Regions from separate parts of the Homo sapiens genome. Here regions 2, 3, 4 and 5 are each linked to region 1. The links are contacts of gene promoters, found by promoter capture Hi-C in blood cells and fetal thymus (Javierre and others, 2016). All regions are on one chromosome and are shown on one strand. Each heading gives the region's core, a stretch centred on a gene start or on the middle of the fragment in contact. The rest is flanking DNA. Distances are from core to core; before and after follow the strand shown.

The links. Contacts are between HindIII fragments. The CHiCAGO score rates a contact against its expected background, and 5 or more counts as called.
Region 2: a fragment that was not itself captured here is called in contact with the fragment with the promoter of ST13 in region 1 in 1 of 17 cell types (naive B cells); the score reaches 5.0 in naive B cells.
Region 3: a fragment that was not itself captured here is called in contact with the fragment with the promoter of ST13 in region 1 in 2 of 17 cell types (megakaryocytes and naive B cells); the score reaches 5.8 in megakaryocytes.
Region 4: a contact is called between the fragment with the promoter of CHADL here and the fragment with the promoter of ST13 in region 1, in 2 of 17 cell types (fetal thymus and M1 macrophages). The highest score is 23.5, in fetal thymus.
Region 5: a fragment that was not itself captured here is called in contact with the fragment with the promoter of ST13 in region 1 in 4 of 17 cell types (M2 macrophages, monocytes, M1 macrophages and 1 more); the score reaches 8.7 in M2 macrophages.

The regions. Positions count from the first base shown.
Region 1 is chr22:40,855,299-40,857,975 of GRCh38, reverse strand. ST13 (ST13 Hsp70 interacting protein) reads left to right here and starts at 1,337. Exons shown (of 12, transcript NM_003932.5): 1 at 1,337-1,545. The coding sequence starts at 1,436. XPNPEP3 (X-prolyl aminopeptidase 3) reads right to left here and starts at 828. Exons shown (of 10, transcript NM_022098.4): 1 at 731-828. The coding sequence starts at 794. RefSeq lists enhancers at 523-982, 993-1,212, 840-1,609. The HindIII fragment of the contact is 3,469 bases long and covers 182-2,677 here.
Region 2 is chr22:40,365,690-40,368,366 of GRCh38, reverse strand. ADSL (adenylosuccinate lyase) reads right to left here. Exons shown (of 13, transcript NM_000026.4): 13 at 1-1,931. The coding sequence ends at 1,845. Among named protein-coding and RNA genes, the nearest start is that of SGSM3, 3.6 kb to the left of the region's middle. The HindIII fragment of the contact is 1,399 bases long and covers 639-2,037 here.
Region 3 is chr22:40,435,242-40,437,918 of GRCh38, reverse strand. It overlaps MRTFA (myocardin related transcription factor A), which reads left to right. Exons shown (of 15, transcript NM_020831.6): 5 at 2,365-2,420. Among named protein-coding and RNA genes, the nearest start is that of SGSM3, 66 kb to the right of the region's middle. RefSeq lists enhancers at 889-938, 1,009-1,058, 1,179-1,308, 1,569-1,628. The HindIII fragment of the contact is 881 bases long and covers 935-1,815 here.
Region 4 is chr22:41,239,565-41,242,241 of GRCh38, reverse strand. It overlaps CHADL (chondroadherin like), which reads left to right and starts at 1,311. Exons shown (of 6, transcript NM_138481.2): 1 at 1,311-1,368; 2 at 2,622-2,677. The coding sequence starts at 1,361. RefSeq lists enhancers at 707-1,207, 1,208-1,708. The HindIII fragment of the contact is 52,914 bases long and covers 1-2,677 here.
Region 5 is chr22:41,147,502-41,150,178 of GRCh38, reverse strand. It overlaps EP300 (EP300 lysine acetyltransferase), which reads right to left. Exons shown (of 31, transcript NM_001429.4): 12 at 2,233-2,342; 13 at 1,004-1,141; 14 at 1-418. Among named protein-coding and RNA genes, the nearest start is that of EP300-AS1, 49 kb to the left of the region's middle. The HindIII fragment of the contact is 4,498 bases long and covers 1-2,677 here.

The DNA.
Region 1 (2,677 bases), core at 88-2,587:
ACATTCCATTTTAAATGAATTCAAGTATATCAACATAAACATATGCCAAGACATAGCTTTGATGTCAAATACCATACGTTCTGGTTCACACATTGTTCATATATTGACCCAAAAAACTGAAATACGATCCAATGGCAGATCCGCCTGCAAGGAAGGTGATTCAGTTTTCACTGATTAAGCTTTATGTTCATCAGATTAATTGCTCGCAATAGAGGACACCCTACAAAAAATTATTCTCCTTATCCTTCGTCTTGTCTTTGCAAACAGGACTTTCAGACACAGAACGCCCCAGAAGTATTTCGAAACAGTTACCTCTCCTAAGAGGAGCTGCTGAAAGAATTTGTTACTAAACATGCTTCGTGTATATTCTGGAGCAAGCTCTCACGCCTAACAGAAACAAGAGCTACTTGATGTGAGACACTTTGTCACTTAAGTGTGATAATTGCCACAACTTCGGAGTCCGAGTAACTTGGAAGACAGCCCCTCTGGGGGATGGCACACTTTTCTCTCTGCAGTCATTTCGGCTTCACAAAATACCTCAACGGTAGAGAACACACTGGGCCCACCCCTTTCCAGGAGCAGCCGGTATAGAAGAAATCCGCGGAGCACAGAGGGTTGGGGAGCGGAGGCCCCACCAGGAGAAGGGTCAGCCGAACCAGGGATCGCCTGAGACCAACTTGGGTCCCTCCAGGGGACACCATGGGAGGAGACCGTGGGAGAAGAGTCTAACCTGAGAGGCCGCGGACGTTTGCTACAGCGGGAACCAGCTTGGGGGCTGAGAGCAGCCAAGGCATTACGGCCTAACTCACGCGTCGGGAAGAGAAAGAGGGTAACGACGGGGAACGCAACCGCCTGCAGGGCCGCGTCGCCAGGAAACCGGGCCAGCCGCACCTCCCCTTCCGGCGGAGGCGGCTCGCGGGCCTTCCTTGCGCGGCGGCGCAGGTTGTGACGTCATGCCCCGAGCTGGGACCGACCCTCCGGCTCCACGCCCTTTTTTTTTTTTTTTTTTAGGTCCCGGGCGTTGAGCTCTACTCAGTGCACGCAGCCACACAATATGCTCTTGGACGTCGCCCCCTGGAGGGGATGTTATCTCCCGCCTCCTTGAAGTCGCCCATTTCTGGGGTTGCCCCATCCAGGGAGCTGGTTCCTAGTTAAGAATATGAGAATGTATGCGCAGGGAGGCAGGCAACAGCACGAACAGCCACGCTTCTAGAAGATTCTAGGGAGCGCGCAGGAGCAGCGCAGAGGGAGTAGGAATGAGCAGGCGGAGGACCCGAGGTCACGAGACCGTTGGGTGGGAGGAGCCAGCGGCCGGGGAGGTTCTAGTCTGTTCTGTCTTGCGGCAGCCGCCCCCTTCTGCGCGGTCACGCCGAGCCAGCGCCTGGGCCTGGAACCGGGCCGTAGCCCCCCCAGTTTCGCCCACCACCTCCCTACCATGGACCCCCGCAAAGTGAACGAGCTTCGGGCCTTTGTGAAAATGTGTAAGCAGGATCCGAGCGTTCTGCACACCGAGGAAATGCGCTTCCTGAGGGAGTGGGTGGAGAGGTGAGACCCAGGCCTGAGGACCGTTGGGGGCGGGGGAAGCACGGCCCCAGGGGGGAGCCAGGCTGGACCTGGCTCGGTCCGGCGGGCGAGGCGGGGTCGCTGCCCCTTCTTTGCCCGGGAAAGGGAGGCAACTTCGAGGGGTCATGGAAGATCGCGAGCCTTGGGTAGTACAGGAGCCGCGGGGAGCAGGAGGCAGAGCTGGGTTCCTCGCACCCTGAGGTTGCCCAGGGGTGTATCTTGGGCGAAATACAAAAACAGGACTGCGGATGCGTGGACACTGGAGACGCGAGGAGTGAAAACTGCAAGACTTAGATTTTGCGTGGGGTTGTTTTTCTTTCAGTCTTGTGTGCCCTGCTCAGGTCTCATTGGTACATAGCAGTTCCTTTACGCACTATTCCTTTACGTCGTGTTATAATAATATAACACTAGTAAGTTAAAAGTTACAAAACTAGTAAGAATAAAAATGATAACTGTAAAAATGATTGTTTTTACCTTACAGCGTTTGTAGCTGCGTAGGATTAATTATCTTGAGAATCACTTATTATACCTCCGTTACTTGGCAGTGTTATCACTCCAAACACGTCTGAGAAAAATAATTTCTTAAGGCCTGGCATGTTTCCAGGATATAATCTTGTTGTCTTTAACTGTAGAGTACTTCGCTACGTGCAAGGAGTTAATTGACAAGGCATTGTGCCTGGTGCTAGGAAACAGTATAAGTACTGTCTATTTAGACGAATAAATAGAAAAGTTCGTTTTGATATTTACTATATAATAGTAATTAGCATTTTATGTGTTGAAGGAGCACCGAAGAGAAAAAGTGACAGGGAAGTCTTCCCTAAGATGACTTTTTAAAAAATTATTACTAATGGGGAACTGAAAAGATGACATACAAATTGCACTAAACAGGGATAAATAGCAACTATGCAGACCATTGCGACTCCTAAGAGGTGCTGCTGTGAACGTTATGTGTTTAGTGACTTTTGTCTTTTAGAGACAGGGTTTGGCTGTATTGTCCAGGCCGCATACAGTGGCGGGATCACTGCAGCCTCCAATTCCTGGGCACAAGCGATCCTCCTGCATCAGTCTCCCAGGTGGCTAGCAGTGCGGGATCGAGCCACCATACTTGGCTAAT
Region 2 (2,677 bases), core at 89-2,588, 490 kb after region 1:
GCAACCTGATTTCCTGGCTACTTTTAAATAAAACTGGAACCGATTCAGCCTCCTCTCCCTCACAACATTCCTAACGAGGCAGTCTTCCAGCTTCTGCCTGACCTGGGGGATTGAGTGTAGGTTGCTAATCTCAGTGGTTCCAATGTCTGGCCCCAAGCCAGTCTCAGTAATGGGTATTGAGCTCAGTGTGTCTCTTGGGGCAACACACAATCAAGTCACTCTTCCTGCACCTGGCAATATTTGAAGTGCCGAGGAGTTTTCTTCTGTATAGGATAAAGAGCCCTAACATTCCTCCACCACAAGATCTTTTTGGAGGTTGGCTCTCCAGTTCATCTCTATTCCTCAGACTGGGTATCCAAAATTGAATGTAATGCCAAGAGTGCGGAGCAGTAAGCCTCTGGTGGCTTTTTGGGCACTGGACAACCATTAACACCTCCTAAAACAGTCTTCTCTCAGTTCTGGTGCATACTGAGTTTAAGATTAACTTATTTACATTGATCTTTATTAACTTTTTCCTCTAGTTTAGGACACATCATTTCAGCCGATTTAGGTTAGAGATGAAAACTTATTTTACCAAATAAACATACTTGTTAATTCTCCCAGTTTTGTGTCATCTGCAAATCTGATAAACAAAAGCTTTCATTTTCATCTATGCCGAAAAATATGTAGGATGAGAATGGGCTAAATAACACTAGTGCTCTCCTGGCAGGTAGGTAATTAACTCAATCTTTGGCTACAGTTGCTTCAATCAGCTATAAATCCATGCAACAAGGAAGTCGGGCGCAGTGGCAGAAGCTGGAAGACTGCCTAGTTGCCAAGTATCTGATGTGCTCTTGCTATTGGAAATACAACAAGGAATGACACAGACAACGTTCTTGTCCAATGGCACTTGCTTACACTGTAAACAAGTAAAAAAAGAAAACAAGATTAGGCTGGGTGTGGTGGCTCATGTCTATAATCCCAGAACTTTGGGAGGCTGAGATGGGCGGATCACTTGAGGTCAGGAGTTCAAGACCAGCCCGCCCAACATGGCAAAACTCCATCCCGTCTAAAAATACAAAAATTAGCCAGGCATGGCGGCAGGCGCCTGTAATCCCAGCTACTTGGGAGGCTGAGGCTGGAGAATCGCTTGAACCTGAGAGGCGGAGGTTGCAGTGAGCCAAGATTGTGCTACTGCACTCTAGTCTGGGTGACAGAGCAAGCCTCAACAACAAAATCCATGCAACAAGGAATAAAGACTGTCAGCGGCCCTGATGAAATCAATATACTCAATTAGCATTTCCCTGCTGTATAAGCCTTATCAAAAGATGAAATGAGCTTGGGCACAACTTCAGCTCAATCAGCCTGATGGTCACATCAGGGTTTGGTTCTTTTTTTTTTTTTTTTTAAGTATTTACTGTAGTTCCAAACTTCATCACTTATACTAGCCAAAAATAACCGAAATAAAAGGTATCTGACCATTGACTCAATCACTGAGTCCAGGTTATTTTGCTAGACCTAGATCAAATTCACTTTTAGAAGACAGGACCAGAAATTTCTTGCTACTTTACAAGCAAATGAACACGTGAAAAGGACTAAACTTGAGGCAGCTGGAAAATATGCCTTGAAAGAACAGAGATCAAGTATGAACTACATTTACTATGCAAGAGCAGAGTCAACTTCAACGCTCTTTGTTTTTGCCTTGTTGAGAAATGTGAGACTGAGAAACAGGAAAGCACCATGGGAAGAAGAAAGTGCTGTACTAATTTAAGGTAACAATTCTCGAGGTAAAATAAGGCATTATAGTAACACAATTTTCATGCCTCAGCAATTAACAATGATTTTCGTTTAATTCTCTTCCAACTCTACAGACATAATTCTGCTTTCACCTTCATCACGCTTTCATATGGTTTTAACAGGGGATACACCTCCTCTTCTAAGAATCTCTGCACCTGCCAGAGGAAAGCAAATACAAGACAAAAGAAAATGTTAAGATATTAGCAGATAATACCTTTTCCAATGTCAGGGGATACCACTGAAACCTAATTTGATGAAGCTTTTACTCCAACACTGAGCTTGTTTTCCTCAACTGCCTATCAGGAATTTCTGCCTAGACACAGATGATTCAACCACCATGCCCACATGCTCACCAACCTTTCCCGCAAACTGGCCCAGCCTGTGTTCTCTCAGGTGGTTTCACCATTTCCATCCAACCTAAAAATCACCACAGCTTCTTTCCTCCTGCTTCCCAGCCCTCTTCAAGTAGCCACCAAGAGCTTAACCTCCTCTCCCTCCCCGGTCTGTGTCTCTCACCACTGCCTTCACTCAAGCTCTCATCATCTACTGCTTGGCCCGTTGCAGTAGCCTCCTTATTGGTCTCCTACCTCCAGTTTTAGTCTTTTAGCCCTCAGTCCTTGCACGTACTGCTTGGTATCATAATGACCTATTTACAAGTATTCACCACTAAGTTTTGAGCTCTCTGAAGATGAGGATTATCTATTCATCTTTGTATTTTTTTTAAGACAGGATCTCATTTTGTCACCCAAGCCAGAGGGCAAGGGAATGAATATGGCTCACTGCAGCCTTGACCTCCTAGGCTCAAGCTATCCTCCCGCCTCAGCCCTGAGTAGCAGAGACTACAGGCGCACACCACCACACCTGGCTAATTTTTGTATTTTTTTGTAGAGACAAGGTTTCA
Region 3 (2,677 bases), core at 126-2,625, 420 kb after region 1:
CCTGGTATTCTAGGCACTTGGGGAATGCTGTGAGTGACTAAAAAAATAGACAAAACCCTTGCTGTGCTCTGATGGGGACATGTTGTAAATGTAAACGTGGGAGACTGAGAGTAAACAAGAAAAGTATGTAGTATTCCGCCTTTTTTTTTTTTTTTTGAGACGGAGTCTTGCTCTGTCTCCCAGGCTGGAGTGCAGTGGCACTATCTTGGCGCACTGCAACCTCTGCCTCCTGAGTTCAAGTGATTCTCCTGCCTCAGTCTCCTGAGTAGCTGGGATTACAGGCACCCTCTACCATGCCTGTACAAAAATGTTTGTATTTTTAGTAGAGACGGGGTTTCACCATGTTGGCCAGGCTCGTCTCGAACTCCTTACCTCATGATCTGCCCACCTCGGCTTCCCAAAGTGCTGGGATTGCAGGCGTGAGCCACCATGCCCAGCCAGATACGTAGTATTTATATAAAGACTGTCAAGACAGTGATGAGTGCTGCGGAGAAAAATGAGGCAGAAAAGGAAGCTGGGGTGGGGTGGACAGTGTCCGTTTTCTCTTGATTCTTTGTACTTACTGTCTCATGCATGTGCTAAGCTTTCCAAGAGCCAAGGTTACGTGTGATGCATCACACCCGGGTTCCTGCAGAGCAGGACGTTTGGAGTTGAGCTAGCGTTACACAGTAGAAGCAGGTGCAGGGGGTGTCTATTTACCCACTGAAATGCCCACGACCTGCCCATGTAAGAAGTGGGGAATCCTGGATAGTGCCCAGGTAGGTTGGGGAGGTAACTTGTACTGGTTTTTCTTTGATGTTATTTGTTAAATCTAGAGCTCCCCCTTCTGTTAGAAGATGGGATCTCAGTAGTACTTTTAAGACTGTAGTTTCTTTTTTATCTTAAGATTCACAAAAAATTTTTAAAAATAAATACCACTGGGACAATTGAAGCTTTCTTCTGGGACTGCTGTTGCTGAGGCCCAGCCCCCCGCTGGGGGTGGAGAGGAAGGAGGAAGAAGCACAACGGCCCAGGCAGGATAGGGTCCTATCTATGCTCTCTTGCTACTTTTAGCAGCTCCTTAACCCTGCACTCCTACCGCAGCCAGCAGCCTAGCAAAAGTTATCTCTGCTCGCAGTTTCACAGCTCTTTGGAAATTCTAGGGCAGGAGAAGTGAAACTGACCACAGTCTTATAAATTTCTCTCTTATTGCCTCTGTTCCCTACTTGAAGTGAGTCAGGCCTTTCCCTCTCATCCTCAGAGTGTCTTAAGTTGCTATTTGTCCTTACAGCCAAGTTTTTGACAAAAGGAGTCAGACCTTCCATTCATGGTGCAGCCTTTCTGGAGGCTCTTGGTTTGGTCTTGCCACCTGAGTGTTGTTTGCAGAAGTCGAGACTTGTGGTCTTTGTGTGGTATCCCCAGAATAGAGCTGAGCCCTTCGTCTCAGCTGTCGGTTGTGTGTGTTCCTTCACATACAATTGCCATGGGGTTCTTTTAGTCCTTAGAGATGAAATTCAAGTTAATTTTAGCAGCACTATAAATAACAGGTGCAGTGAAGAAGGAAATAGTGCCGAGTGGACATATATCTTTTTGGTTTTAACTGTCCCATTGAAACAGTTTGGCCACTTTATGATTCCTCGTGAGGTTGAGGAAGTAAGGTTAATTTGGCATGCATCTGTGCCCCTTCCTGTGTGCAGGTGTCCTGAGAATAATGTGAGGCCTAGCAGGCGTTCTTGGAGTCCTAGCTGAAGGGGGATTTGCGGCTGACGGTCCAGTCATGGGCCAGGGTGTTTGTTAAAGTTACATTCCATGGGTGCACTTTATATAGCCCAAGCTTAGGCAGTGACAGTTCCCATTAGGAGTCATATTTTGGTTTCTACCAAAACTGTTTGAATGGGGTAGCTAAACCATAAAGATACATGCTTACTCAGGTGTCATTGCCTTCACTTCAACTGATATTTATAGTACTACTAACAGTAATGTGATTTTTTTTTTTTTTTTTTGGGGGACGGTTTCTCGCTCTGTTGCCCAGGCTAGAGTGCAGTGGCGCAATCTCGGCTTACTGCAAGCTCTGCCTCCCAGGTTCACGCCATTCTCCTGCCTCAGCCTCCCTTGTAGCTGGGACTTCAGGCGCCCACCACCACCACGCCTGGCTAATTTTTTGTATTTTTAGTAGAGACAGGGTTTCACCATGTTAGCCAGGATGGTCTCGATCTCCTGACCTCGTGATCTGCCTGCCTCAGCCTCCCAAAGTGTTGGGATTACAGGCGTGAGCCACCACGCCCAGCCAGTAACATGAATTTAAGATGCCTTCTCCACTGAATATCGTAGCACTAGACATGATGCTTCGCTTGAAGGTAATCTTTACGGTTCTTCTCTCAACAGCTTTGAAAAGTCCAGCCGCATTTCATGAGCAGAGAAGGAGCTTGGAGCGGGCCAGGGTAAGGTACCTTTTTTCCCCCTCAGAACTCCCAAAGAGCATTTTCAGAGCTCATTGCATTGCTGGTTATATTTCCATTTAGAGCTTTCCATAGAACTCTGAGGCCAGAGCCTGCTAGACTCTAGGGCCAGCCCTGGCCTTGTGGTTTTAAATGGAAAGCTCTGCTTCTCCTACTTCATCCCTTCTCTCATTTACCTCCCATGGTGATTATATGGAACATGATTGGAATGAGGTTTCTCTTTTTGTACATTTAAGGAT
Region 4 (2,677 bases), core at 62-2,561, 380 kb before region 1:
TATTATATATAAATATATACACACATAAGTGTATACACACACACATACATATATATATATATATATATATATATATATATATATATATATATATATATGTATATATTTTTTTTCTTTTTTGAGACAGTTTCACTCTGTTGCCCAGGCTAGAGTGCAGTGGCGCCATCTCGGCTCTCGCGTTCATGCCATTTGCCTGCCTCAGCCTCCCAAGTAGCTGGGACTACAGGCGCCTGCCACCACACCCGGCTAATTTTTTGTACTTTTAGTAGAGATAGGGTTTCACTGTGTTAGCCAGGATGGTCTTGATCTCGACCTCGTGATCCACCCGCCTCCGCCTCCCAAAGTGCTGGGATTACAGGCGTGAGCCACCGCGCCCGGCCTTTTTTTTTTCTCTTGAGACAGAGTCTGTGTTGCCCAGGCTGGTCTCAAACTCCTGGGCTCAAGTGATCCTCCCACCTCAGCCTCCCAAAGTGCTGGGATTACAGGCATGAGCCACTGTGCCTGACCCCTGTTTCCAATTAAAGGAACAAACAGTAGAAGATGCAATTCCATCAGAAGCAGGAATCTGAAAAATCAAGATACATGAACATTGGCCATGGTCTGGATGTATTATTTAAAAAACAAACACGAGCTTGGGAAGATGCGTATTTGGATATTCTTTGCAATATTGTTTGTAAATAGCAAAAAATTGGAGGTAGCCAATGTCCAAGATGAATGGCTAAGTCAATGTGATACATTTACACAATGGAATACTATATACCACAGAATAATGAGATTCGGAAGAGTCAATTTGGATAACTCCCAGTAATCTGAGGTTAAGTGAAAAAAATGAGTGTCTAGAATCCTGTGTGTCCAGTATTAAACTATTTATGTCAATGTGTAAGCACAAACGGAAGGAAAGGGTCACCTGTTCTGAAGCACCCACTGTGTGCCAGGTGCGGGCCTGAACCCCCACTGTGACCTCAGAGCTACTTATTAATGGGATGTGTTTTTCAGAGACTAGGAAGCAGCCTCTGGGAGGGCAGCCCACATGGCAGGAGGGAGCCCAGGACTGCTGACTCCCGGGCCAGCTGCTGGTGCCCCCTCCCTGTCGGGCTGGCCCAAGGATTCAGGCCGGGGCCTCAGTCCTCGGCTGGGGCAGGCAGGAGGCCCTGTAACTCCAGCCGCTGCTCCCGCCCGCCGCCCGCCCCTTCTTCACCTCAGCCTGGGGAAGCCTGGCTTGCCTGGTCTGCCGACAATGCCTCCCATTCAGCCCTGTCCCAGCTGCCAGGCCTGCGGGCCGTGGAGGGGGGCTCCTGCCAGGCGGGGACAGCCTGTCCCTGCGCTGCGCCTCCAGGCTGGACCAGCAGTTCCAGGCGGCATGGAGGGGTGAGTCTTTGGGCCCGATGGTGCAAGGGGGGATTCAGAGCAGCTCAGTGGCCTCAGGTAAGTCTCTGCCCCCTCTGGGCCTCTCAGAGGCTGGCGGGCAGGGGCTCTGGGGACTTCCTGGGGTTCTCCAGGAAGGGGGTCTCCCAAGGTGGGCTCTGAGACACGTGGCAATGTGGCCACTGCCAGGAACTGGTCCTCTGGGGCTTGTCTGAGAGCCCAGCAGTGGTCCCTGCATTATGAATGCTTGTCGCTTCAGCGATCTGTCCCCATGGGTCCCCTCCCTGGCCTGCCCTGAGGCACAGCCTTCACCACAGGCTCTGGAGAAGCCACCAACTCCAACGCAGGGGCTGGAGCCTGGGACCCAAAGGAGACTCCAAAACAGACGATAGTCCAGTGAGCAGCGAGGGGGAGGCTCCTGGGGGCCGGGGAACAGCCCAGCGATGGGGGAGAGGCCATGCCTGACACAGGCTGAGAACAGAGGGGCCAGCTGGGCAGGGGAGGTGATCTATCATCCTAGCGCTTTGGGAGGCCAAGGTGGGACAATCACTTGAGGCCAGGAGTTCAAGACCAGCCCGGGCAACATAGCGAGACCCTGTCTCTACCAGAAGTAATTAAAAAATTAGCCAGGCGTGGTGGTGTGTGCCTGTAGTCCCAGCTACTCAAGAGGCTGAGGTGAGAGGATCACTTTAGCCCAGGAGGTGAAGGCTGCAGTAAGCCATAGTCATTCCACTGCACTCCAGACTCCAGCCTGGGCAACAGAGCAAGGCTTGTCTCTATTTAAACAAACAAACAAAAAAAGACTCAAGGACCCGGACTGGATGCCTCCCTCCTTTCTGGGGGGTACCATTATGCTCCTGCCACCTGGGAGCTGGCATCATATCAGTCTGAGGACAGGCTGCTTCCGAGCCTACCCTGGACCAGAGCCTCACCACAGCCTGAGAACATGCTCTGAACTGGAGTCATTCTCACAGTCAGCAAGTCCTCACTGAGCCATTGGGCAGAGGCAAAGGGACTAACCAGGTCACTTTTCTGAGCCTCGGTTTCCTCCCATGTAAAACAGGACTAATCATAGGACCTCCACTGCGTGGGGGGTGGGGGGCAGGGAGGCTCAGGGTGATTGGCACTTTCCTGGGCCCAAAGGAGGAGGCTCTGAGGGGTTTTTGGGGCAGGAGCTGCACCATGGCTGGGACTAAGTGAGGGACAGCATGTGGCCTCGGCCCTTGTGCACAACAGACTCTCCCTCCCCGTCCCAGGCCCCGGAGCTCCACCCATGTCCCCTTGGTGCTGCCGCTTCTTGTACTTCTGCTGC
Region 5 (2,677 bases), core at 95-2,594, 290 kb before region 1:
GAAGCAGCGGTGCTGTTGGGGTAGGAACAGACGCTGCTGTGCTCTGCTGTGAGCGAGGCTGCTGCTGGGGCTGGTCAGCAGAAGGTGCAGCAGGAAGTGAAGGCTGCACTTGTTGGGGAAGTTGTGTTGTTGGTGGTGTAGGTGTCTGCCTTGGAGGGGGATGTAGAGCCTGGGACTGTGGCCCAGGTGGCATGGCAGGAGGTGTAGGAACAGGGGCTGGAATTGTTGTTGCTGGTGGCTGCTGAGCCCCTATGCTTGGGGGAGTATGGTGAGGGGTGGGGGTACGACTAGGTACAGGCGAGGGTGAATTCTGATGAAGAGCTGGTTGAGGAAGCTGGGGACAGTGAATGTGGCTCCCCTGAGACCCTGGAGGCATTATAGGAGAGTTCACCGGGCAGGAAGAACTAGACATTTGTGCCTGTTAAAATAAAAAACATAACAAGACAGCAATTCAGAACAGAATTAAGGAAATACTTACATAGGCATGATATATAAATTTAGGACACAAACTGATTAAACAAAGAGTAGCAATGTGTCTATTTCAAAATGTGTAAAATACCCTATTACTGGGCATGTATCTTTGGACAGCACCATCAAGATAGTACTTAACTAAAGAGACTTCAAACCATTCAGCAGAATGGCCTCAGCCACCGCAGAAAAATGGCAGAATTGAGTGCAGAGTGCTCTAGGGCCTGCCTATGCTCTTTTCAGCCAGATTTCCTTCTACATTGTGTTTAATTCTAAGATTTATTTTAAAGTGTTCACTAGTAAAAACAATTAAAACTATCCATTTAAATTATTTCCTACTTTGTAACAATTAACACCATTGCTATGTCACAGAATAATCTCTTCATGTTCAGAATACCCTAAGTCCAAAATTGTTATTTTTTAAAAAATCATCTGTTTTCACCCACTATTTGCTGCCACTCTCTCCTATAAAAACCTACATCAAGAGAAGTTTCAAGAATCAAAAATAAGTGAAAAATCCACTTATGAGACATACTTGAGACACTGGAGCTTGACCGCTGGACGGAGCCAAAGGGATATTTGTTACATTCATTCCCTGTGATGGGAACTGAGTCTGAGGAAGGAACTGGCCCTGGTTGGAAGGCTGTTGCATACGAGGCCCATAGCCCATAGGCTGAAAAAAAAAAAAAACACAAATCACCAAACTGCTTCATTATAGTTATTCTACTATAACTAAAATCATCAAATGCTCCTAACGTCAGGCTTATTAAGTAGAGAAAAGCCAAAGACAGGAGTATAGGTGAAGAGGGCTGAAGAGGAGAAGGAAGAAAGTTGTAGAACAACTGACTCTTGTGCCAAGATAAAGAGAAATAGCCTCACAGTTTACCTAGGCCTACTCCAAGAAATAGTAAGAGGATGGAACACACATTCTCTTGGTACACAAATATGCCTAGCACAAGGATAGCAGGTAATTTTCTTTGCATGCTCTGTTAAGTGAGGAGAGTTAATCACAATTTCATGAGGTCATGTCAGTGATGTAATAACACAAATTCTAAGACCCATAATATGTAAAAACAAGAAAATCTTACAAGTTGTAGCAGAATCTGGTAGCATTCATGGTCCACAAATGCTCTAGCACTGTTACATGTCATTTCCAAAATTACCCTACACAAATTCAGGCCTTAAAGAAAGAAATCTCGAGTACCAAAGGCCAAAAACTTCATAAGCTAAGACCATCTGTCTTATAGGTTAAAATGAAGGACAGAACTCCCTGTTGAAAATGGCAGATTAGTGAGAAGTAGTAATGCTCAGGAACCCCCAAAAGGGTCAAGAATCAGAGGCACCAGCTAACTCTAAAGGGCAGCAGGAGGGTTAGGGTCAAGGTAGAGAGATGGACTGGTTAAGAGTTCGCATAAGGAGCAGGAGAAGCCTAGTCTCTCTTCTCCGAGTTCAAGAACCAGGCAAAAACGCACCATCAACCTTGCAAGACAGTTCTCTGCCTGGAGGAGGGAAGACAGACATCAGGGAAGAGAAGTGACCGTGAAAACGCATGCAGGCCACTAAACACTGACACTCCAGGGACAAGGGACTGGCTGTTTTCGTTTTTTGGTCAGCTTTCTAGTAGAGTTAAATACAGAAGAATTACAGAAGAACTAGGAGTTATGGTCTGTTTAAATGACTGTGAGAATTTATAAAGTAGGAACAAACAGGATTTTCAAAATACCAGGTAAAGGCCAAAGAGATTACCAAAGACGTCAAACTAACCGGGTTGAGAGCTCCAGGTTGAGCCAACTGTCCATGGTGCTGAAGAGGAGGGGTTTGCCGGGGTACAATAGGGGGCTGGGCCATGCTCATCTGGCCAAATTGATTCAAACCTGTGAATATGAGCAAAATGTTAGATCTGAATGCCTTTGTGAAATTGAATAATAAAAGATAGAATTCTTATGTCTGATTCTGTATCTTTTTTTTTTTTTGAGACGGAGTCTTGCTCTGTCGCCCAGGCTGGAGTGCAGTGGCGCAATCTCCGCTCACTGCAAGCTCTGCCACCTGGGTTCACACCATTCTCCTGCCTCAGCCTCCTGAGTAGCTGGGACTACAGGCGTCCGCCACCACACCCAGCTAATTTTTTGTATTTTTAGTAGAGACGGGGGTTTCACTGTGTTAGCCAGGATGGTCTCTATCTCCTGACCTTGTGATCTGCCCGCCTCAG